Linked DNA regions of Homo sapiens: all the other regions are linked to region 1. Evidence: promoter capture Hi-C in 16 types of primary human blood cells and fetal thymus (Javierre and others, 2016). All regions are on one chromosome and are shown on one strand. Each heading gives the region's core, a stretch centred on a gene start or on the middle of the fragment in contact. The rest is flanking DNA. Distances are from core to core; before and after follow the strand shown. Region 1 holds the start of ERVFRD-1 (endogenous retrovirus group FRD member 1, envelope). Region 2 overlaps TMEM170B (transmembrane protein 170B). Region 3 has its middle 5.9 kb from the start of TMEM170B. Region 4 overlaps TMEM170B (transmembrane protein 170B).

What was found. The method cuts DNA at HindIII sites, captures the fragments that hold promoters and counts their contacts. A CHiCAGO score of 5 or more calls a contact.
Region 2: a contact is called between a fragment that was not itself captured here and the fragment with the promoter of ERVFRD-1 in region 1, in 1 of 17 cell types (total B cells). The highest score is 6.4, in total B cells.
Region 3: a contact is called between a fragment that was not itself captured here and the fragment with the promoter of ERVFRD-1 in region 1, in 4 of 17 cell types (non-activated CD4 T cells, M2 macrophages, total CD8 T cells and 1 more). The highest score is 9.7, in non-activated CD4 T cells.
Region 4: a contact is called between a fragment that was not itself captured here and the fragment with the promoter of ERVFRD-1 in region 1, in 2 of 17 cell types (total CD8 T cells and erythroblasts). The highest score is 7.7, in total CD8 T cells.

What each region holds. Positions count from the first base shown.
Region 1 is chr6:11,108,832-11,114,537 of GRCh38, forward strand. It overlaps ERVFRD-1 (endogenous retrovirus group FRD member 1, envelope), which reads right to left and starts at 2,894. Exons shown (of 2, transcript NM_207582.3): 1 at 2,846-2,894. The region is part of intron 1 of SMIM13 (small integral membrane protein 13); the gene reads left to right. The HindIII fragment of the contact is 9,311 bases long and covers 1-5,706 here.
Region 2 is chr6:11,580,592-11,586,973 of GRCh38, forward strand. TMEM170B (transmembrane protein 170B) reads left to right here. Exons shown (of 3, transcript NM_001100829.3): 3 at 1-2,933. Among named protein-coding and RNA genes, the nearest start is that of TMEM170B, 46 kb to the left of the region's middle. The HindIII fragment of the contact is 766 bases long and covers 2,161-2,926 here.
Region 3 is chr6:11,528,566-11,535,207 of GRCh38, forward strand. No RefSeq gene overlaps it. Among named protein-coding and RNA genes, the nearest start is that of TMEM170B, 5.9 kb to the right of the region's middle. The HindIII fragment of the contact is 3,303 bases long and covers 3,356-6,642 here.
Region 4 is chr6:11,557,245-11,563,470 of GRCh38, forward strand. The region is part of intron 1 of TMEM170B (transmembrane protein 170B); the gene reads left to right. Among named protein-coding and RNA genes, the nearest start is that of TMEM170B, 23 kb to the left of the region's middle. The HindIII fragment of the contact is 1,562 bases long and covers 2,500-4,061 here.

The DNA of each region.
Region 1 (5,706 bases), core at 1,644-4,143:
GTTGTCCTTCTAGTGGGTCTGGGTCTAGGTTAGTGTGTTTCACTAGGGCCTCTTCTAGCCTGTCTAAGAAAATGGTGAGGTTTTCATAAGGCCCTTGATCTGTCAAGCCCAATTTATTACAGTTCACAGGCTTTGCTCTGCTAGCTTTCATTCCTTCTATCAGATAGAGGAACATGTGGGTCCTTGCTCATGTACTCCCCTGGATATTGTAATCCCAATTGGGGTTGACCTGGGGAACTATGGTGGCCCCCACAGGGTAGCCACCAGTGTCAGGCATGTGCATTGTGTTTGCAAATTGTTGGACCGCCACCATAATGGAGTCACATTCTCCCTTAGGCAGAGTTTGCCCTAGTATGACTGAGAGGTCCCTCCTGGTGAGTTCAGATGTTAAGCCCAGTTTATAAAACACTTTGATATATTTGTCAGGGTCCTCCATAAACTTCCCTAGTTCCATTTTAATTTGGCTCAGGTCTTGCACAGTGAATGGAGTCTGGACTCCAGTGGGTCCACTGGGACCACTAAACCTCCTGAATGGGGCATAACTTAAGGAGGTGGTGTCCAGAGGATGGCCCTGGGTAGGGAGGAGAAGGCTTCTGGGAGACTTCGATATAATTGGGTAGAAGGGGCAATGGGGCTTGAGCTCTGGGTAAACCTGATGAGGGGCCTTCTGAACCAATGGGAAGGGGCTGCATGACTATGGCCATGGATCTGTTTTACAAGCCCAACAAAGGTCAGGGTTGTTTCTTAGGGCCATGAAGGCCAGCACATAGGGGATTTCTGTCCATTTTCCCTGGTGGTAGCAAAACAAATCTAGTTGATGGATCATATTTAAATTTGTGCTTCTATTTTCTGGCCAAGATTCCTGGTCCTAGAGCTTTTATTCAACCCAGGCTGTATTACAGAAAAATATTAGCCTTTTCCTTTTTAGGGTTTGGGAGTCAAACTTTTCCCAGTTCTTGAGGATGTATCCTAGTAGTGTGTCCTGTGGTACAGAGACTTGATTACCTGTCCACAGAGAGAACAGAGGAGAGAAGAGAAAAAGAAGGCAACCCCTCCAATTTCCCTACTGTCTTTTTCCTGAACTTACAGCAGACCAGAGTGGGTAGGGCATTACCCCATTCATCCATTTTTCCTTTGCGTATGGCAGTGTCCCCCATTCATTCTAGGGGTTCCAGAATGAACCAGTGCTTACCAGGTACCCCTAACCTTGGTCCCATCTTGTTTTATTGAGGCACAATTACCCGTTTGTAAAGAAAGAACAGAGGCGAGAAGAGGGCATCTCCCCTTGTTCTCTTAATCCTGTGCCTATGGCAGACTACAGTGAACAGGGTGCCCTCCCACTCATCCAAGGGGTTCTGGAATGAACCCAGTGTTTACTGGGTACCCCTACCCTGATCCCATCCCATTTCTGGACCAGCCTTCATCTGTGTTGCAGTGGTAATCTGTTTTGTGTTTGTAGCCTGGAACTAGTCTTCATCTCTGTTCTATGGGTACTTTGGTCTCTTGCATCTGCCTCCTTGGGCTGTCCTATATCCTTGTCTCCATGACCTTATAGTGACCCTTGTTCAGAGCATTCTAGCAACAGAATGATTATCTCTTCTCAGATTCTCATTTCCCATGTTCTTTAAGAAGACGAGAAGCCTGTTTTTCTGCCAATTGCTGCAAGGGGGCTGGACTTCTCTCCCTTCAAATATAACTTTGAAGGTCCTGATACATATTGAGAAGGGCCTGGAGGTGATTAGAGGAATGGAGGAAAATTTGTATTTGGGATTCTTCATCCTCCCAGGGTAACATGCAGAACAAATGCTTAACGAGGTAGAACAATCCCTCTGCTACAGGAGAAAGCGGGAGGAAGCAAGAGGAATACTCATGGAAAGCCTTCATATGTTTGCAGAAACAGCAGCCCTTGGATTTGAGAGGGCAACGTTTATTTGCCCTCTTGATATAAAGGAGGAACCTCTGGAGGACTTGGTGTTTGGGATAAGACCCTGCAAACGGCAGAGAATTTTCCTTCCCCACAAAGGGGTGCTAACTCAGAAAAAAAGCGAGTGGGTGGGGTCCTTAAGGGCTACAGAGTGAGGTCCTATGCAAGCAAGCAAACCATTCAAAAGCCAGGGAGAAACATGGCCCTGGAGCATAACAGGGATGAAAAGCATATGGTAAGTCATAAGGAGCTGACAGAGCTAAGGTTCTGATTAGTGTCTATCCCGGCAGTGAGCCAACAGACAGGGAAAGGGTTGGAGGTCATCCGAGCTGGTAGGGTAACAAGTATAAATATCAAGGGACATCCGTAAGGGAGTCCATCTCTTGGTTGCCAGGCTAACACAGCAAGAGCTGCGGGTGCATGAATAACAAATAGGGAATGTGTGTTTAAGGCAGAGAAGAAAGTTGCAGGGCATGCAAAGTAAGAACAGAGAAAAGACAGACTTACCCCCAAGGCAGTTGGTCCAATGGGTGTGCGAGGTCATTTTGGAATACATACAGAGAAAGGAAAATAGGTGGTGGTGGGTTTTTGGGAAAGAGCTGATTTTAGTTGAAAAAGCAGAGGAAACCCCAGATACTACATGGTTGTAGGTTTTAGCCCTACCGCTCTCATCAGCCTCCTGTCTGGGGGGGCCATTAGTGTCTCAGGTCTACTTAGTGCAGACTCCAAGGTCCTTCCCACCCCTGCAAGCCATCCTTCGGGGTGAGCAGAGAGAGCAGCCAGGGGGAGCAGAGCCACTGTGGTTGAGAGGAATCGTTCCAGGGGTAGGTTAGTAAGCAGGAGAGTGAAAGAGGAGAACGAAACCACGTACGAGGGTTGAACGCCTCCAGCCGAAGAAGGCAAGGCGTAGAGGTGTCTTACCACTAGGGAAGGTATCCGAGTCACTGCACCATTTGAGAGATCCAAGTGCCCTGTTCAGCCCTTGACTTGGGGTTTTATACATCGGCATGGTTCCGGGGTTTCCATTTCTCCTCCTTGGATTTTTTTCCTTGGGGTGGGCTGTCTGCTGTGCAGTGGCCTGTCAGCACTTGGGAGGAGCCACATGTGCATTTGTTTACTGAAGTTGTGCGCATGCTTTCTTGAGACATTTTTCCCTTATCAGTCAGGTGTTCCTAGAGGAAGGTCACATACTGGTTAAACTGTCATTTTGCTTCTTAGTGCGCATGCTTGAGCCCACTTGCCCAGCTTCGGAGATCTTATCAGGAAGTTGCTGATCACCAGCTTCCGGTGTTTCCTGTCTTTTGGGAGACTGTCTTTCCCTGGTACTGGCTGCAACCCATTATTATTATTTTAGAGAAACAGTGTAACAACCGCCTGATCATCACCTGATGGTCGCCTGACATTCCTGAGCTGGGGGCCCTCTCCTGCCCTGCTCATGTCTGCCTGACTACCTACTCTAACAGAACCAGCTTAACCTAATGGCCTCCTGATAGAACTGCTTGCTTTTTTTTTTTTGGAGACAGCCTCGCTCTGTCTCCCAGGCTGGAGTGCAGTGATGCAATCTTGGCTCACTGCAACCTCCACCTCCCGGGTTCAAGTGATTCTTGTGCCTCAGACTCCTGAATAGCTGGAATTAACAGGTGTGCACCACCATGCCCAGCTAATTTTTGTATTTTTAGTAGAGACAAGATTTCACCATGGTGGCCAGGCTGATCTTGAACTCCTGACCTCAAGTGATCTGCTGTCCTTGGCCTCCCAAAGTGCTGGGATTACAGGCATGAACCACCACACCTGGCCCAAACTGCTTTCCATAAACATAAATTTACCTTTCTAATGTAAATCAAATCACACAACATGCTTTTTGTGTTTGACTTCTTTCTGCTAGCATAATGCTTTTGAAATCTATTTGTGTTGTGTATATCAGTAATACATTCTTTTGTATTGCTGAAAGAGTATTCCATTGTATAGATATACCACAATTTGTTTATCCATTTACTCATTGATGGACATGAGAGTGGTTTCCAGCTTTTGGCTGTTAGTATTATTATTGTTTTATTTATTTATTTTTTTGAGATGGGGTCTTGCTCTGTCGCCCAAGCTGGAGTGCAGTGGTATGATCTTGGCTCACTGCAACCTTTGCCTCCTGGGTTCAAGCAATTCTCCTGCCTCAGCCTCCCAAGTAGCTGGGATTATAGGCACCTGCCACCATGCCTGGCTAATTTATTTTATTTTATTATATATTTTTTTGTATTTTTAGTAGAGACGGGGTTTCACCATGTTGGCCAGGCTGGTTTCGAACTCCTGACCTCAAGTAATCCACCCGCCTGGGCCTCCCAAAGTGTTGGGATTACAGGCGTGAGCCTGTAGTAGTAGTATTAGTAGTTAGTAGTATTATTAACATTCAGTTGCAAATCTTGGTGTAGACATATGTTTTCATTTCTCTTGAGTAACTTCATTTCTCTTGAGAAACTGCCAAACATTTGCATTGCCAGCAGTCATGAGTGAGAATTTGTTACTCCGCATCCATCACCAACATTTGATGGTATTGTCTGTTTTTAATTTAGCCATTCTAGAGGATGGGTATTATGCTTTTGATTTTTGTTTCATTAATGACTAATTATTTTCAGCATCTTTTATGTGTTATTTGCCATTCTTTCTACCTTCTGTGTAAATCATCTTTACAAGTTTTTTCTACTCATTTAAAAAATTGTGTTACTTTTATCAAGTTGTAAACAATTCTTTATTCTGGATACAAGTTTTTTTTGTTTGTTTTTATCAGATATGTTTTGCAAGTATTTTCTTCTATTCTGTAGCTTGCCTTTTTATTTTTATTTTTTTGAGATGGAGTCTTGCTTTGTTGCCCAGGCTGGAGTACAGTGGCACAATCTTGGCTCACTGCAGCCCCCGCCTCCTGGGTTCAAAAGGTTGCCCTGTTTCAGTCTCCCCAGTAGCTGGGAATTACAGGCATGTGCCACCATACCTAGCTAATTTTTGTATTTTTAGTAGAGGCAGGGTTTCACCATGTTGGCCAGGCTGGTTTCGAACTCCTGATCTCAGGTGGTCCACCCATCTCGGCCTCCCAAAGTGCTGGGATTACAGGCATGAGCCACCGCACCCGGCTGCCTTTTTATTTTTAAATGTCATTTGTTTTGTGTTGTTATTGTTTGATAAGTCCTTCTTATCAAGTTTTTAAGGTATGACATATAAAGTTATTCTTTTTGTTTTTTTTTTTTAATTTTTTTGAGACGGAATCTCACTCTGTCGCCCAGGCTGGAGTGCAATGGCGCGGTCTTGGCTCACTGCAACATCTGCCCCCAGGATTCAAGCGATTCTCCTGCCTCAGCCTCCTGAGTAGCTGGGATTACAGGTGCGCGCCACCACGCCTGGCTGATTTTTGTATTTTTAGTAGAGATGGGATTTCACCATGTTGGCCAGGCTTGTCTCAACCTCCTGATCTCAAGTGATCTACCTGCCTCGCCCTCCCAAAGTGTTGGGATTACAGGCAGTTGAAGGTAGTTTTACCTTTTCTTCCCAATGTGTACATTTGTCTTTTAGCTTTTGCCTCATTGCACTGGCTAGGGCCTTATAATGTTGCAAGAAAGGAGTGAGAGCAGACCTTCCTCCCTGATCTTTTGGAGTGAAATATTTAGCCTTTTACCATTAAATAAATTATTAGCTGTGGGATTTTAATAGATATTCTTTATCAAGTTTAGGAAGAAAACTTCCCCTCTGTTTCTACTTTGTGGTGATTTTTCTTTTTTTTTTAAATCAGGAGTGGATAT
Region 2 (6,382 bases), core at 1,294-3,793, 470 kb after region 1:
TAATCGGGTGAAACTCTGAATTGTTAAAACGGACCAATAATCAAATGGTTTTATAATCTTTCTTAACTTCCCGTCCTTGTTATAACATCTTGGAAGAAGACTCTTCAGGATAAAAAGGATATTATTTGATTAAAAATTATAGCATTTGGAGAGGTAACACACAAAAACAAAAACATATTTGACAAAGCGCCCTACATCCTGTGTTTTGTTAGGACTAGAAACTATACTGGATGAGTATGTATACTGCATGTTTACACATGCTGTGTTTCTTTATATGTGAGGCTTCACTGACCACCGTGCATTTTGAAATTGTATTGCATTTTGTGTGTGTGTGTGGTGACAGGTTTGCTCTTCTCACTTAAGGAGCTCTGGTCTGTGTAGGCAGTACAGTGTTGTTAGGGAGGTTGCTGAATTATCTAAAAATGTATCCATGAATTTGGGGGAAATAATGCTTAATATCTGAAGTATTTTCAGTAAATGTGGAGATATATCAGATAATACTTTTAAATTAGTGGAAACACATTTCTGAGTGAACTGAGCTATGAACTATAATCATCTCTTCCCCTGAGTTTAGGGAAGTTGTTTTCACATTCTTTACATTTATTGCACATATACTGAACTTACATAATAACTCTTCCCTGATTTTGAGAACGAATTTAGCAATTTCCTAAAAATCTTCCTCCTCTTTCCATACAGATGTCGTATGTTATAGTTTAAACATATGTACAATTTGTTGATAGAATCCAAGGAGCTGGTTTAGGAAAGAATACTCTTAACCCCTACAGTTATGCAGCTCTAATCTTACTGAAAAGTAAATACTTTAGGCAAGTCAGGAGAGCATGAACCTCATACATACATTTTTACGATTATGTACTGCACCCACATGTATCTACTCTTGGTAGTAACATGACTCCACCCTTTTTGGGAATGTATTTAGGTGGATAACTGAAACGGAAAAGCAGTTTGACACAAATACACAGAAAGAGGAATTGCGGTGCATAATCAATCGTCTGAGTCCCATAACTGTAACACTTTTTCTCTTATAAATTGGTAGTTCCTAAAAATCACCACTTTAAAAATTTTATTCTGTCTTGCTGAATTAAGCAGAAATCACTTTTTTTAGAGCCTTGTTTAAAGGAACGTTAACTCGAGAGTACTACTGATGATGACGCTTCTCTTGTTTTTAAAGTATTTACACATCATTGTTAAGTATTTTTGGAATGGAACATTTTAAAGTTTTCTCCATAGAAAGCAACATAGTGGCACTTGTTGAGTAAATGATCATAAAAATGACTTGCTTTTAATAGCAGATGAGTTGATAGTTTAACTGTTGACACTTTCTTAATGTTTTTGATGTTGGATGCATTTACAATGGAAGAATTTTTTTGAAAGATTTGGCCCTCTCACCAATACACACATTCAGACTTGAGCTGCACGCATTTAGATGAACAAATAGGAAATTCACGGTATTTTTTGTTTTAGCCATCCAAAATTCATAGGATTCTACCAAAAATATTAGCCCCTGACTCTAGTTATTCTGAGATGAGGGAATCAACTTTATCTTGAAAGTTAACTAGCTAAAATGTCTTTATTTAAATAGCAAAAATATAGTTTACCTGACAAGTATTAAAAGTCTCACTTTCAAATTGTGTTAACTCTCAGACCACTGATGAATCTTTTGGTAAATCACAGGCAGATTTTAAAAGCTAAATGAAGCCTTAGTGCCTTGAAAGTTAAGATACTTGTGCAAAATGGATTTAGCAAGATTCAGGATTGGCACCAGTGAGTTGGCTAGATACACATCACCAGTGACTGGGAATTCAAAGTTTAGAAAGCCTAACGAATAGTAGCTACTAACTTCATATGGTTCAATGTAAATCAGTTACTTAGTCATTGACTGTGACAGATGACAGCTACTTTCACTATATTTTCATGATGTGGTATTTTTCTCTATTTTTTCTTTTTCCAAGTATGAAATGGAAAAAAATGTAGTTAAGAAAATTAAGTGTGAGACTTTAAAATTTAGTTTTGTTGTAAACTAGAGATTCTAGTGAACAGTGTTAGTTTTATACTGTAGTACAGGGCACACACTTTAACCTTTAGAAATATGTTTACCATCAGGGATTTATTTTTACTATAGAAATACTAAATGTACTGTGAAGCTTAAAGACAGGAGAATAAATGTTGGAGGGGTAATACACAAAAACAAAGGCATATTTGATGAAGTACCCTGTGTTATGTGAACACAATTTCCCCTTCTGTTAAGACTATAAACTATATGAGTATGTGTACTGCATGTTTACATAAAACAGTTTAATTTTGAAGGATTATTTTAAAAACTATGTTTATATATAATACCTAACAAGCTGTAAATATTGTATATTATTGATTTTTAATTTTATATAAGCAATTTTTTATTTCCCAATTCATGTACAAATCTCATTATGTATATAGCATAATTTCCTGGAGAACACAAATTTTGCAGTGAATTTTAAGTAATTTTAATTGCAGTAAGCATCAGTTTAGCCTAGAGATGTTGATCTTTATTTTAAATTATTTTTCACCATTCTCATTTTCTTCAAAGGGCAGCAATAAACATATGCAAGTTATTTTTAATTATAGAAAGTAGGTCTACAAAGATAAGATCTAGGTTCCAATTCATTGCTTTAAGGAAAAGATGCACAATTACTATCATTCAGTGTCTAATCACAGGACCATTTCTGAGGTCCACATGTGGCTCTCCTCTTTGTAATATACAGGGTGAACTCTTTACTGATACACACAAGACAACTGTTAAAAAGTGAATCCAGCACTTAAATGTCATTACACAGAATTTATTGGATTAAAAATTTGTAATATACAGTATTTTAATAAAGTTTCTGTATTCAATTTCATGCACTTATATATAAATAAACCTGTCTTTGAAAGCTTTATGGGGTGTTTGACTCTTGGTGATAAATCTTTTCAATTCATTCACTATGGACTCAAATGTCTTCTCTTGCCTTTTTGTCAATTTTTCTGGCCCTGTTTTACCTACAGATTTAGGAGTTAGTGCTTAAAAGCTGAGAGGCGACCAGCTTGGCCAACGTGGTGAAACCCGTCTCTACTAAAATACAAAAAAATTAGCTGGACGCTGTGGTGTGTGGCTGTAGTCCCAGCTACTTGGGAGGCTGAGCCTGGGAAATCACGGGAGGCGGAGGTTTCAGTGAGCCAAAAACGTGCCACTGCACTCCAGCCTGGGCGACAGAGTGAGACTCTGTCTCAGAAAAAAAAAAAAAAAAAAAGGTGTGAGGCATAAAGTCTGGTTAATAGACTTGCCTAGGATCAATCCTGGGCCACATAGCATCTACTTCTGAGTTACCGTTTAAAGAAACATGCTATCAATTTTATTAATAAGGAGCTACCATTTGTTGAGTGCTTCTTATCTGTTAAAGACACTTCCTATGTATTCTTTAACACTTAAGGTAACCCTTCAAGTGATATGTTTTATCGCCGTTTTATAGATGAAGCATTTGAAGTTAAGAGAAGGTAGGAATCTGCTCAAGGCCACAGAGCTAATAATTGCCGGGCTGGGGTTTTCTTGCTCGATTACCTGCTTCCCCCAACATAACTATGTTGTGTTGGTGTCTACAGAGTATTTTGGGAACTCTTACCTGTAATGAGATAATATCTCATTACTGTAAAAAACCAGATGAAATTATGTGGTCTTGAAAAATTATCAACCGAGGATTTGAATTGTCAAATTTATGCATATTTTGAATGTTTGGGATTTCTCAGGGAAGTGCTAAGTACCCAACTAGATTCAACTGCTATCTTGCCTGTGAAGAGATTGGAGCTGACAGAGCCAGTCACTATAAATGTTTCAAATCTTGCTGGAATGAAAACTAGCTTCACTTTAAACATTGCGCAAGCATAATGGAAGTAAACGTTTTTTCACATACACTGACCTACTCATTCCACGTAATTACTCCGTGGAAATATATTTTCTTCTTCCTTGGTAATTTTTTTTATTCATTCACACTAATCATAAAATTATTCAATACATTTTCTCCCTGGCCATGAATGTTAACATCTTGGACAAAATATAAATCTTGAGATCCCAAAAAAGTTTTCTATTTTAGTTCTAGTATCTTTTTTGGCCCTTGAAGTAATATTTTTGTAATTTAAAAAAATAAGTCAGTTTTCTTTGGGCATTTTGTTATTTGCAGAGCATTCAAATAAGACATTAAATTTCGGATTTACTTATTTCAGATTTAATGAGTGATTGATGAGATCTGACTCTGTTGCCCAGCCTGGAGTGCAGTGGTGTAATTAGCTCACTGCAGCCTTGACCTCCTGGGTTCAAGTGATCCTCCCTCTTCAGCCTCCCCAGTAGCTAGGAATACAGATGTGCACCACCATGCCTGGCTAGTAAATTTCAGATTTATCACCACCTACATTGGACAAAACTACAGGGAAAGGTAATTAGAAGAAAGACGCTTTAGTCTTAAACTGAGCCTTGTGTTTACCATTATGAATGAGTCCTAGTCAGGCTTGTGGAGAAACATTTCAGATTTACTGAATACATCCTTACACCATCTGTGTTTTGCAGTTGAACCTTTATTATTTTGTTTTTGAGAGTGGATCGCTCACTGTGTTGCCCAGGTTGGTCTCGAACTCCTGGGCCTAAGCAGTCCTTCTCCTTAGCCCCTTGAGTAGCCGGGATTACAGGTGTGTGCCACCATGCCTGGCTTCAAACCCTTATTAGCTCATAAAATACTACATCAAGCTTCTGGGTGCAGAGGGGAAAGTAAACAGGATCCATGGCACCCACTCTTTGAGGACTAAAAATTGGGTTTGCCTCTAGCTTCCAAATGGAAACTTAGGAATCTATCCTGTCTGCTCTTAATTTTCTATGATTCATTGTCACTAGGCATTCTTCTTTTGGACAATTTTATGAATATTTTTCAGGCTCAGAAAGTTCTGGGGACTGATTGGCAAAATGTAATTGCATCAGGTGGTTTTCTTGTAAAGCAAGAGTTCCGTCACTAGATGGTGCAGTGGTTCTATTTTATTTTTCTCCTTGCTTTTGCCTTGGACATTACCTATGAACTGAAATTAACTGATTGTTACTTTTGGATTCATTTCCATATGATACATTTAATGTTTTTTTTCCAAAAGAAATGCACACCAGAAAATTAAATATGAGAAAAATTAAGGTTTCTTCATGTCATCACTAGCCAATGTAACTTTCCAAAGAATTATTAAGATAGGTTGTTTGCAAATTAGAAACAACCTATCAGGATTGTTTGCAAATTAGAAAATCACTTTAGTTTATGATTTTTGTAAGTCATTAATCTAGACTTTGATTTATATATTTTTCTTAAATTCCAACTCAATGCATAATGGTTTTATCTAATTTATTTATTTTACCTAGTGTATTTTATTTATTATTTAGAGAGAGTCACACTGTGTTTGGTGCCCAGGCTGGTCTCCGACTCCTAGCCTCAAGCAATCCTCCTGCCTCAGCCTCTCAAATAGCTAGGATTACAGATGCAAGCCTTGATATCTTAGTATCTAATTTAGTAGTCTACGCTTTCTTAGTGACATTTAGTTATACAGTTGGTCAACTTGGGGTTACGCACACATAGTGCAATCTGCCTTGTGTCATGAGACTCGGTTTTAAATTCCTGCTCTACCACTTAGTAATTGAACTTGTCCAAGTCATTTAACTTCTGCAACAGTCAGTTCTCACATTAGTAAAATGGAATGACATCTCATGTTGCACGCAGTGAGTGCTTAGAAAATAACCTTTGTCCCATTGCCCTCTTTCAATGTATTGTCTGCACATAGAGGGATGATGTCCTTCCAGCCTTTGCTAGAAGTTTTGGTAATAAGTTCAGGCACTTCTGTTTCAAAGACAGAGCCAGATTCTGTCCTGACAGAGAACAGTGCATTTTTAGGGAGGATTTGTTTTAGATTTAAACTGTCCCGTTGAACCCCGCACTGCTTTTGCAACAAAGCCTGCTGAGGGAAATTTTAGAAACATACCTCAGTGGGAAAGAGCCTAGTTAGAAAGCAGGATGAATAAACTTGCTCAGCTAGCAAATTCCTCGCATTCTCTAAACCAAATATGTACAAGATGAGGAAGCCAAGGCGGCCAGCATAAATGAATCCTGAAAGATGGCCGGGACTTGCCCATCAGCTGTGCACATAGTCACCAACCACTGCAGATCCTGTTGCTAATGAGCTGCTCTGCTTTGTTTACTATGCTACAGAGACAAACTATTTAGTTCAAACTCAGAGAGGGAGGGTTGGTCTTTTCAGCTCCAGAGTTCTGGTTGTAAAAGCGCGAGTTTTGTTTTCCCATAGTGTGGCCTACAGCAGCCATGGGGACACACGT
Region 3 (6,642 bases), core at 3,757-6,256, 420 kb after region 1:
GGCACTGGGAAAACTGGATATCCATATGCAAAAGAATGAAACTAGACCCTTATCTCTCATCACATACAAAAATCAAATCAAAATAGATTGAAGACTTAAATTTAACTAAGACCTCAAACTATGAAACTACTAAAAGAAAACATCAGGGAAATGTTCTAAGACATTGGTCGGGGCACAGATTTCTTGAGTGATACCTCAAAAAACACTGGCAACCAAAGCAAAAATGGACAACTGGAATCCCATCATGCTAAAAAGCTGCACAGCAAAGGAAACTATCAACAAAGTTAAGATACAGTCCACAAAATGGGAGAAATGTGTGCAAACTGTTCATCTGGCAAGGAATTAATAAGCACAATTTATAAGGAGCTCAATCAATTCAATAAGAAACAAGTCTAAAAATCTGATTTTAAAATGGGCAGAAGATCTGAATAGACATTCCTCAAAAGAAGACATACAAATGGGCAACAGGTATGTGAAAAAATGTTCAACATCACTAATCATCAGTTACATGCAAACCAAAACTACAATGAGATATCATCTCACACCAGTTAAAATGGCTTTTACCCAAAAGACAGGCAATAATGAACGATGGGGGAGGATGTGGAAAAAGGGGAACACTCGTACACTGTTGGTGGGAAAGTAAATTAGTACAGCCACTGTGGAGAGTAGCATTAAGTTTCCTCAAAAAACTAAAAATAGAATTACCATATGATCCAGCAATCCCACTGCTTGGTGTATTTCCAAAGGAATGAAAATTAGTACATTGAGAAGATATCTGCACTCCCATGTTTGTTGCAACACTATTCATAATGGCCAAGATATGGAATCAACCTAAGGGTCCATCAATGGATGAATGGATAAAGAAAATGTGATGCATATACCCAATGTAATATTATTCAGCCATAAAAAAGAATCAAATCTTGTCACTTGTAACAACTAGGATGGAACTGGAGGACATTACGTGAAGTGAAATAAGCCAGGCACAGAAGACAAATGTCATATGTTCTCACTCATATGTGGGAGCTAAAAAGTAGATAATTAAATGCACAGAGATAAAGATTAGAATGATGGTTACCAGGCCAGGCCCGGTGGCTTAAGCCTGTAATTCCGGCACTTTAGGAGGCCAAGACGGGCAGATCATTTGAGGTCAGGAGTTAGAGACCAGCGTGGCCAACACGGTGAAACCTCGTCTCTACTAAAAATACAAAAATTAGCTGGGTGTGGTGGTGCACGCCTGTAATCTCAGCTACTTGGGAGGCTGGGGCAGGAGAATCACTTGAACCCGGGAGGCGGAGGTTGCAGTGAGCCAAGGTCACACCACTGCACTCTAGCCTGGGTGACAAGAGTGAAACTACGTCTCAAAAAAAAAAAAAAAGATAATGAATGGTTAATGGGCACAAAAATTATAGTTTGATCAAATGAGTAAGAGCTAGTATTCTGTAGCACAATAGGGTGACCATAGTTTAAAAAAATGTATGTTTTAAAATAACTGAAAGAGCGGTATTGGAATGTTCCTAACACAAAGAAATAATGAATTCTTAAGATGAAGGAGATCCCAGTTACCCTGATTTGGTCATTATAAATGGTATGCCTGTATCAAAACTCACATGTACACCATAAATGGAATTATTACGTACCCATAATTAAAAACTTAAAAATTAATTTTAAAATAATTGTAATATTATGTACCCATAATTAAAAAATTAAAAAATAATTTTAAAAAAGAAAGAAAAAAGACCATTGGAAAAATTTACTTTCAGAGTTTCAATTTTTTTAATGCAACTAATATTTCTAGTTGAATTCAATTTATGATGGATTGGGTTAGGTACCCAATTGGACAGAACTTTAATATGGAGAAGAGTGATGGGGTAACATTTATTCTGTACGTTATATGAAAACTTAGAAAGTCATAATAAGTGAAGAAAGGTGGTCTGGATGAATTCTCTAGGAAACAGCCTTTGCCTGCTGCAAGGTGGCAGGATTTTGTGGGTAGACAAGATATACTCAAATTGTTTGTGTCTACAGAAAATTTGGATCATCTAGCTTTGATTAGTAAGCTGAATTTACCAGTTGACTTCTAGAAAATAGAATCACTGGAAACCTGGAATACAAAAGAATGCATTCTTGTCAGAGCAGTATTGGAATACTAATTAGGGAAGCTCAACCACTGAAGGAAAAGTCCCAAATTACAACAGGTTGCTAACCTAAAATAATCAAAATGGTCAAAATCTAGTTTAAGGAGAGTGTGTTCAAGTGCAATGGGGGGATGGCCCACCTAGGAAGTACAGATTCCAAAGAATGGAAGCCAGTGTTCCAAAGTGTAGGACTTATCTAAGCTTTAATGCCTCGTTACAATGATCTGATTAGCTAAGGTGGTCTTTTTCCCTTGAGAAAGGTACATTTAACATTCCACATGGAAGACGTAACTGTTATGGGGTCCTGAGCACCATCTAGTCTGAGTTAGATACAGGACAAAGGAGGCAGCTAATCTATAACAAAGATCAGTGATTGGAAGGAAAGATCTGGGCTCTGATCTGTCTTACTCATTTACAGAACAAGAACAGTGAGGAAGACAGTTAAGCTATAATGTAAGAAGCAGAATTCCAAACATATGACGTGACTCAGTCTCCAGGGCTTACCTTCCCTGTTGGCATAATAAATTCAGAGGGTCCTAAAATTTTATTTTCTTTTATAAACTCTATACCAAGGAAGTTCAAAGGGGATTCCAGATCAGCTGGGGGGCTCTCTGTCCTGTTCTATGCACTCTTTCAAGAAGCCAGGCTGATACTGGCTTTGACATCTTTGACATGTGACTTTCAAAAATACTGGAGTGTCACCATCCCAATGAATCAGAAAAGTAAAAAGAGTATGGAGCAACAGTTAAAAGAGGTTTTGATATGCCAGGCATGGAAGTGGCACACATCACATCTGGGCACGTTCCAAGGCCATACTTCCCTGCAAGGGTGGCTGGGAAATGTATCAGGTTGTATGCCCAGGAAGAAGAGATTTTAGTGAACAGTGAGTATCTATGCCTCAAAAGTCATTCAACAAGCAGATCTAAAGTTCCTGTAAGTTTTGAGCCTCAGAAGTCTTATTAAAACAAGGGGCAAATTGAGGAAGTAATGGTTAAATTTTGGGGATTTGGATTCAGACAGTATTGGGCTAGGTGACCTTGGCAGGTTACTGGCTGCCCAGAGCCACAATTTCCTTATTTGAAAAGTGAAGCTAATAACAGCACAACCTTAAAAGGGTGTTGTGAGGGTTAACAGTTTACAGACTGGTATGTGAAAGATAGAAAGTGTTAAATAAATGATAGTTTTCAAGCTGTTCATGACAACTCCACTTCTCATTTCAAAGCTTCTTTCAATAATAGGAGGGTCGTGCCTTCTGTTGAACATACTGTATAACCCAGGTGTCTTCAAATCTCCTGAATTTCTCAGATGGTTAATTTTGTGTGTTAAATAGAATTATGGTTAATTTTATGTGTCAACATGACTGGGCCATGGAATATCCAGTTATTTGGTCAAACATTATTTGGGGTGTTTCTGTGAGAGTGTTTTTAGGTGAGAGTAACATCTACATTGGTGGATGAAATAAAGCAGACTGCCCTCCCTCATGTGGGTGCCTCATCCAATCAGCTGAAGACTTGAATAGAGTAAAAAGGCTCCCCCAAGGCAGGCAGAATTCTTGCCTAAGTGTCTGAACGGAAACATTGCTCTCCTAGTTCTCAGGCAATGCAGTCTCAGACTGGAACTACACTATTGGCTCTCCTGGATCGCCAGCTTGCCAACTCACCCTGCAGATCCTGGGATTTGTCAGCCTCCATAATCGTGTGAGCCAACTTCTCATAATAAATGTCTTTCTATACATAGGCAACCTATTAGTTCTGTTTCTCTGGGAGAATCCTGACTAATACTCTTTCCCTAACTAAAATGCTGCATACAGTTGGGAGCCCCTGAAACCCATTTTCTTACCAATGTTTAGTAAATGGTCTAGGTTTGGGAGAAGAATAGGGCTATTTTTAATGGGCATTTGTCACTAAACTTTCATTTCTCCTGTATTCTCAATTTTATCACTTACCTTTCCTTAATACTATAGTTTCCACCCTACATTAAATTATTTCTTCATGCCCAAACATCACTTTCCACACTTTTACTAAAGGAAACAGTGTTATGGCCCAGGAAGGGCAGGTGACTCCCAGACAGCATGGATCTAAGTGGCTGGGAGCCAGGGGTCGGGGGAGAATTTTCACTGATTGCACGTCATATCATGAGAGTTTTGAGTCATATGAATTCATCACACTAAAAAAAAAAAAAGGTGGGAAAGAGGTAGATTCTTGCCCATCAAGAAAATCCTTCACAATTTCTTTCTGCTTGTTCTTTAAAATAAATAATTATTTAGAAGATTGCCATTTCCATACAGTTCTAAAAAATCTATTAATATTTAAATATTACAGTAATAAAAACTAGTATTCATTGAGTATTTACTGCTCCAGACTCCACTCTAAGCACTTAATTACTAAGTACTTTGATCCTCAGAATATCTCAAGGAAATATTATAATTAAATATATACTATCTATAATGAATAACAGATATATTATACATATAATAGAATATTATAGTTCAAATTTTACAGAGGAGAAAACTGAAAGTTACAGAGGTTAAGTAACTCACTGAATGTTGAATGTTCACTCCTGGTAAAGCAATAAAATCAGGATTAAAACTTAGGTAGTTTAGCTGTAGAAGTAAGAAATAGAAAAAAATATATACTCTTAAATCTGATGGAGAAGGGGAGGAAAAGGAGGTTATAAGGAAGTGGAGTTATATGATTTTAGGATTGCTGAGAGTGGATGGTCACTAGATACATTCTAAACAGAGGATGAAGTGTATATCAGTTATGGTCACAGAGATTACTATAAAATACAAAAACAAAACCAATCCTTTCAAATTATAAGGAACATAAACAAAGCAAAGGAAACACAAACCATACCCATGAAATACTTTTTTAAAAGAAGCAACAAAAATAGAAATAATAATATAACTATGATGCAAGTAATACCACATATTTATTATATCAACGACTAGAAATTATCTAGAAGTTCTTCTATTAAATTAGAAATTTCATATTGGAATACGATGTCAAACTCCTAAAACAAAATTATTCAAAGTTGAAAAAGAATGGAAAAATACATATCAGGCAAATGCAAACAGAAAGCAGGACTTAAGACCTTAACATCAGACAAGATTCACATAAATTTTAAAAGCATTTTATAATGGAAATTAATATATTTTTAATTTAAGAAAGCAAAATCACAAATCTTACATACATATGTGTTCACTAAAACACATAGAATCAAAATTCGTAAAGCGCAAACTACAAAAAGTACACAGAAATATAGGCTGAAATATATTATTTGTAGAAGACTTAACCTCACTCAGCCTGTGTTAAGACTGCATTATTTGTTCATTACCATTTGTTGCCCCCTCCCATTCATTCTTTCCATCCTTCTCTGTAGGCAGAATATACTTTTTTATCCCATTCACTTAGGGGCTTAACTATGCAATCTGCTTCAAACAAGGGAATGTGGATATGTGACATGCATGTGACATGGACCCCATATCTGAGCATGAACTTTAAATGCACCTGTGTAGTTTAGCCCTGCCTCTCTTGTCCATGCCAGAGCTGGGATAAGGATGAGGTGGGTGAGACAAGGTCTTGCAAGTGCAGGGTGAGATTCTGTGTTTATTTAAAATTTTGGTATTTCATTAATCATGGATTTTTGCATGAATTTTTATTTTTAAAAATATTATATTAGTATATTATTTATCTTGATAACAGAGTGTTTCAGAGTCTGTTGTCAAGACTTGCAGGCAAGGCTTTGCAGGCAAGGCCAGTGTCCCATTGTAGCCCTGGTTCCAGCCCTATACCATGAGAATGGCATGTACTCAGAGCGTGACATCTTCCTCAGCCTCAGGTATGAAATGAGAAGACCTGTGGAGCTGGACTGAGCTGAATCAAGCTGAATCAGTCTAGATTTTGGACTTGCATGGGGCCTGTAGCTCCTTTGTTGTGGCCAATGTCTCCCATTCGGAATGGCTGTATTTATCCAATGCGTGTACCCCCATTGTATCTAGGAAGTAACTAACTTGCTTTTGATTTTACAGGCTTATAGGCGGAAGGGACTAGCCTTGTTTCAGATGAGACTTTGGACTGTGGACTATTGAGTTGATGCTGAAATGAGTTAAGACCTTGGGGAACTGTTGGGAAGGCATGATTGATTTTGAAATGTGAGGACATGAGAGTTGGCAGGGACCAGGGGAGGAATGATATAATTTGGCTCTGTATGGTTTTATCAAGGGTCTCCACTTTTGCGTCTTCCTCATTCTCTCGTTGCCTGCTGCCACCCATGTAAGACGGGACTTGCTCCTCCTTGCCTTCCACCATGATTGTGAGGCTTCCCCAGTCACATGGAACTGTAAGTCCAATTAAACCTCTTCCTTTATAAATTGCCCAGTTTTGGGTATGTCTTTATCTGCAGCGTGAAAATGGACTAATACGTTAAGTTGATACCAGTAGAGTGGGGTGCTTCTGAAAAGATACCTGAAAATGTTTTTCTCAAAAGATCAATATCATTTTATATT
Region 4 (6,226 bases), core at 2,031-4,530, 450 kb after region 1:
TTTCTCATTGGATGGGAGTGACATTTTTTGCAAATTTTTATATTAAAATTTAAATAGAATAACTGAACTGTTTTAGTAAGCATAGATTTTAAATTCTACAAAATCATGCATTTAGGAAAAAATTGGGGACACTACAAACCTGAAATGAATGCATGCTGGGCTTAATACCTAGGTGATGGGTTGTTGGGTGTAGCAAACCACCATGGCACACATTTACCTATGTAGCAAACATGCATATCCTGCACATGCACCCCAGAAATTAAAAAAAAGGAAATAAAATAATTTAAAAAAAGAAATTTAGATATTTTTAGAACATGGTCAGTAATGTAATTGTGCAGGTAATCTTCACATTTTTGTACTTGGTATTTTCCTACTTTTAGTTTCTTTACTGCTTGCTTCTCACCAGTGTTTGAACAGTATGGTAGATGGACTAAACGTACTTTTTTATACTCCCAAACCTAATGGAATTATCATTTATCCAGTTGTTCACACCAGAAATCTGGGAGGCCAGACATCACACCTCGCTCATCTCTATCATCCAGGCCATCCGCAAGTTCTCCTAAATATTTCTCAAATTATTTTCAATCACAAAGCCAGTACAAAAATCCAGGCCTTAATTTATCTTTGTACTCTTTAAAATGGTTATTATTTATTCATTTATTATCATTACTATTTTTTTTAAAGTGACAGGGTCTCACTCCATTGCCCAGGCTGGAGTGCAGTGGCACAATCATAGCTCACTGCAGCCTCAAACTGCTGGGCTCAAGCGATCCTCCTGCCTCAGCCTCCTGAGTAGCTGGGACTATGGGCTTATGCCACCACACCTGACCAATCTCTTTGTACTCTTGAAATATTCTTATAGTCTCTCATCTCCATCCATTCCCACTTTTCCATATCTACCACAGTAATCTTTTTAAAAGGAGATATGATTCTATAACTTCTTTATTTAAAGTTTTTATTGGGTCCCCATAATCTTCAATTTTCACAAAAATTCTTCATTCTATATGGTCTATGAGCCTCTCCCCTTTCTTCACCAAAAATTACTCTGACTCTAACATACCACTGTAATTTACAGCCTCATCTTACCATATTTTTTGGTTTTAGTCAAACCCAGAATTCTTGCAATTTCATATTCTCTATTATATACAATTTCATGATTTGAACATTGTGTTTTAGAGCAGTGGTTTCTCATTCTTGGCTGTATGGGAACATAAGAAACGTTTAAATTTGGGCAACTTTAAAAAATTCCAGTGCCCAAGCTACATCGTAAACCAATTAAATCAGAATGTCTGGGGGTGGTATCAAGGCATCATCATTTATTTTAGGCTCTCCCAGGTGACTCCAGCATACAGCCAAGTCCCACCTCCCACTCCCCACTCTTATCGCACCTCCAACATGATTATCTAATTTGTTTAAATCTTGTTAATTTTTTAAAAATTCACGTGTGGCGATGACTCTTCTTGGGACCTTTCTTGACAACCCACACCCTTGCCACAGGGCTGTGTACCCCATAGCATCACGTACATACTGTACTCTGCAGAAACTGAGGAATTAGAACATATGTAATTGAAATGTCATTAATTGAACACTCAAAGTGCCAACTCTTGATAATATGTGAAACTACCTTGACTATAATTTTCAATGGGGGATGGGACAGCCAAGCCCAGCCCAGAAGTCAGCAGACATTTTCTGTAAATACAGTATTCTACTTTTAGCAATAGTATTTTATTTTACTTAAATAGAAAATGTAGTAAATATTAATATTTTTGGCTTCATGGGCCATATAATCTCTGTCTCAATTACTCAGCTCTGCCATTGTAGCTTGAAAGTAGTCATAGACTACTATGAATGAGTTTGTTCCAATAAAACTTTATGAACACTGAAATTTGAGTTTCCTATGATTTTTACATGTCACAAATTATTGTTCTTTATATATTTTTTTCTTTTCTTTTCTTTTTTTTTTTTTTGAGACGGGGTTTCACTCTGTCACCCAGGCTGGGGTGTGGTAGCATGATCATGGGTGACTGCTGCAGCCTTGACCTCCTGGGCTCAAGTGATTCTCCCGTCTCAGCCTCCTGGGTAGTGAGGGACCACAGGAATGCACAACCATGCCTGGCTAATTTTTTAATTTTTTGTAGAGACAGGGCCTCATGCTGGTCTTGAACTCCTGGGCTCAAACAGTCCCCCTGAGTCAGTCTCCCAAACTGCTGGGATTACAGGCATGAGCTACTGTGCCCAGCTTCTTGATTTTAAAAAATCATTTCAAAATCTAAAAACCATTCACGAAGACTATACAGAGACAGGTGGTAAACTAGATGTGACTCATGGGCTATATTTTGCCGACCCTTGATCTGTATAGCACTTTTCCAAATTATAAATGTATCATCTCTCTGAGAGTCTAGTAAGTCCCCTATGTGGGACATGTCCCCAAATTCAGAAGTCATTGCTGTTAGAAAATGGGTGCAAGTTCTACACTTCAGATTTGTTGGTATAATAAAAAGCTTGAAATAACCCAATTTGGACACAGATTATTTAAATATGTAATATGGACCATTTCTATAAAGAAGGTGATGGTATAAAGAAAGAAAAAATATATATATAAAATATATAAATGGTATTTTCAGCTTGATTTCTAGAATGTTTAGTGCATAGTAAGTTTTCAGTATTGACTTGCTAATGACTTTTAATAGAGAGGTTGGGTTCTCTGTATTTTTGAGGATTAAAAAAATAGTCTAATGAGATAGGTTTTGTTGTTTTAATGACTTTCGGAGTTTTAAATAAATACCTCTTATGTAACTTTATCCTAGAGTAGTGATTTCTGTCTCTACTGCATACCCAGTATGCAGTAATTCTCATGAGCAGCTCAAGTTGAGAACCATTGATCTAGCAGAGCATCTTCTCCTTTATTTTTATTTTTTTATTTTTTATTTTTTATTTTTTGAGACAGTCTTGCTGTGTCGCCCAGGCTGGAGTGCAGTGGCGTGGTCTTTGCTCACTGCAAGCTCCACCTCCTGGGTTCACACCATTCTCCTGCCTCAGCCTTCCGACTAGCTGGGACTACAGGTGCCCGCCACCACGCCCAGCTATTTTTTTTTTTTTTTTAATTTTTAGTAGAGATGGGGTTTCGCCATGTTAGCCAGGATGGTCTCGATCTCCTGACCTCATGATCCACCTGCCTCAGCCTCCCAAATCTTCTCCTTTGATAAAGAATAGAATGAGAGCCAGGCATAGTTGTACATGCCTGTAGTAGCAGCTACTCAGGAGACTGAGGCAGGAGAATCGTTTGAGCCCAGGAGTTTGAGTCCAGCCTGGGCAGCATAGCAAGACTGCTATCTCTTAAAAAAAAAAAAAAAAATGAAAAACTAATTTCTAAAAATATTATATTTGCAGTAAAAATGTGTGTAAAATATTTCAGACCAGTTTAAAATAGTAAAGAATGTATAAAATGATATCATTCATCTCATATCTTATCTCTAAAAGCCATTGTTAGGTCTTCTTCCATTTGGTTATATGTTTTCTATACAGATATGAAAATGTACTTTTTTAAACAAATAGGATTATACAATATGTACCATTCTTTGACTTGTTTTTACTCAGTATTTTTTAGACATCTAGAGAAATTCATTTCTCATAAATAATGTTGTTGAAGGATTAAAAACAAAAGCACAGAAGATAATTTTTTAGTGGCTTGGCAACCAGAGCTGATGAAAGTTACAGATTGGGAGCAGAGCTATTTCTAGTATTGTTTGGAGGCTGGAACAGATCATAACTCTGCTGCCTTTTACCCCACCAAAAAGTAACACACTGCAACAATCCAGGCAAAATTAAGGTGAGGATTATAGACAGTCTTGAGTGGGGAAATGTTACCAAAGGAATTTCTGAGATACGTTCTGGAAGAAGGGATATTCCCTTCCAGAGAATTATGGTGATTATAGGCATGAGATGCTTCAAAGTTTCTGTTGTTTTTTTGTATTACATTTTTAAAATGTTTGTTTTGTATTTTTTCAGCACTAGCAAAAGTCTCTCTGGCTTCCTCCCTTCATTGTTACCCAATTGCTAGAAGCTTGGATGAGGTGGGGTATGAGTGGAGAGAGAAAACTGTGAGCCTCTGGGTGTTCACTTTAGCATAGACAGTTTAAGAAAAGGCTGTGATATTCCACTCCTGTCTTTTTACTAGGTGTTCTTCCTAGGACCTTGGGCATCTGCTTTTGCTCTAGTCCTTAGGATCCTGCGGTTCTCTTCACCTGAACTAATCCAGTAGGTTTCATGTATTTGCCGATAGTGATTGGGCCTTAGACTTTAAGTCTTGCTTATCCAGAGTTGATCAAAATCTTTAGGGTCCCTGTTCACTCATGAGGTTATGTTGATCTGTCAGGTAATTCAAAATAATAGTAATAACACAAAACCTAACATAACTGTTAGGTTATGTTTTCTATCATTTTTTCCATCATAAAGAGTATGATTTTTTAAAAGAGAGAAAGAAATATAAAAGTAAATCTGACATTAGGGTACTTTGTTCATGTTCAGTCTGATGAAGGAATAATCCTGGACTGGTCATTGGAAGACCATTTGAAATTCTATTTTAATTTTATGATTATTTTGATACCTTTGGTTTTTATAAAACATTAAACTGAAATTTTACTTTGCCTTCTATTAGGTAGATTTATTGTTGAGATCATAGCTACATATTCAGTAGTCAAACAACACTACTTTTTTATAATGTCAGATAATTTCCTGTTCACAGTGTTAAATATAGTCAATAAATAAATTATTTCCTCTAATTGTATTATAAGAACTTTTTTAAATGGGCGTGAGGTACAAGGCGGATTGTTGACTTTTGTATTGAAGAGCCTGTGGTTGTTGCAGAGCCTTTCCTTGTCTCAGGGTAAGTTGAGAAAAGAGCTCCCTTGATGAAAATATACACCCCCATATTCTACTCCCTTATATTCTCACTTTATTAGGTTCACTTAGGAAAACTGTATCTTTCAATATGCAAATATCTGCTGAGCAAGTTGGGGTTTTTAAATTTTAATGTATTTATTATAAATTGAAGCCATTTGTTTGAGAGTAATGATCTGAAATACTGTTTCCCTGAATGCTGGAAGAGAAAAGCCTCTAAAAGGCAAGTTTTGTCTATATTTCCGTAATCACTAGCATCTATCTTGTATGCCATTGAGAAGCATGCATGGTAGTTTAACACACACTGTAAAATATATCAGATGTATCTTCTTTGAAATAATTTCAAATTGCATGAGTCCATTCTACGTGCCAGTTCTTAAGAATTTGGCAGGGTAAAGCTGATTTTAAAAAAATCTTTCTATTCTTTCGTTTTTTAAGATTAAACTTTTATTTTGAGATTATAAGAATCACAGTTGTAAGAACCAATACATAGAGAGCTTATGTACCCTTTATCCAGTTTACCCAATAGGAACATCTCAGAAATCCACAGTATAATATATCAACCAGGATATTAACATTGATGCAATCCACCAACCTTATCCAGATTTTGCTAGTATTTCTTCTACACTTGTACTCTTCTCTATTGTGTATTTAGTTCTATACAATTGTATCACTTACATGTATATCCACCACTATAGTCAAAGAAGAAATCCATTACCACAAAGATCACTCATGTTGCTTTTTAATAACCATACCCTCCTTCCTTTTTAAGGAGTTTTTGTTTCGTTTTAAAATTCTTAGTCATTTATGGTCTTGACCTAAGTATTTTTCAAATTTATATCATGCTTTTAAATTTTTTACTTTTTAAAAAAAATTGGTAAAAACATAACTGATGAAGCATACTCGCTGTTGACTGGGGGCAGTGGCTCACGCCTGTAATCCTAGCACTTTGAGAGGCCAAGGTGGGCAGATCACCTGAGGTCGGGAGTTTGAGACAGCCTGACCAACACAGAGAAACCCCATCTCTACTAAAAATACAAAAATTAGCCAGGCATGGTGACGGGCACCTGTAATCCCAGCTACTTGGGAGGCTGAGGCAGGAGAATCGCTTGAACCTGGGAGGTGGAGGTTGCAGTGAGCTGAGGTTACTCCACACCAGGCCCCCCTCCCCGCCAAGAAAAGGCACTCACTGTTTTCTCCTCCCTCACACAGATCACTTCTGTGACAAGTGATGTGTGGTTTTTTTCCCACACCAAGCAGTTCTCTAGGATACCAACTGGGTGTCCTACAGTTCAGTTCAGTTCTGACATTTACCTGGTGTTAGCAT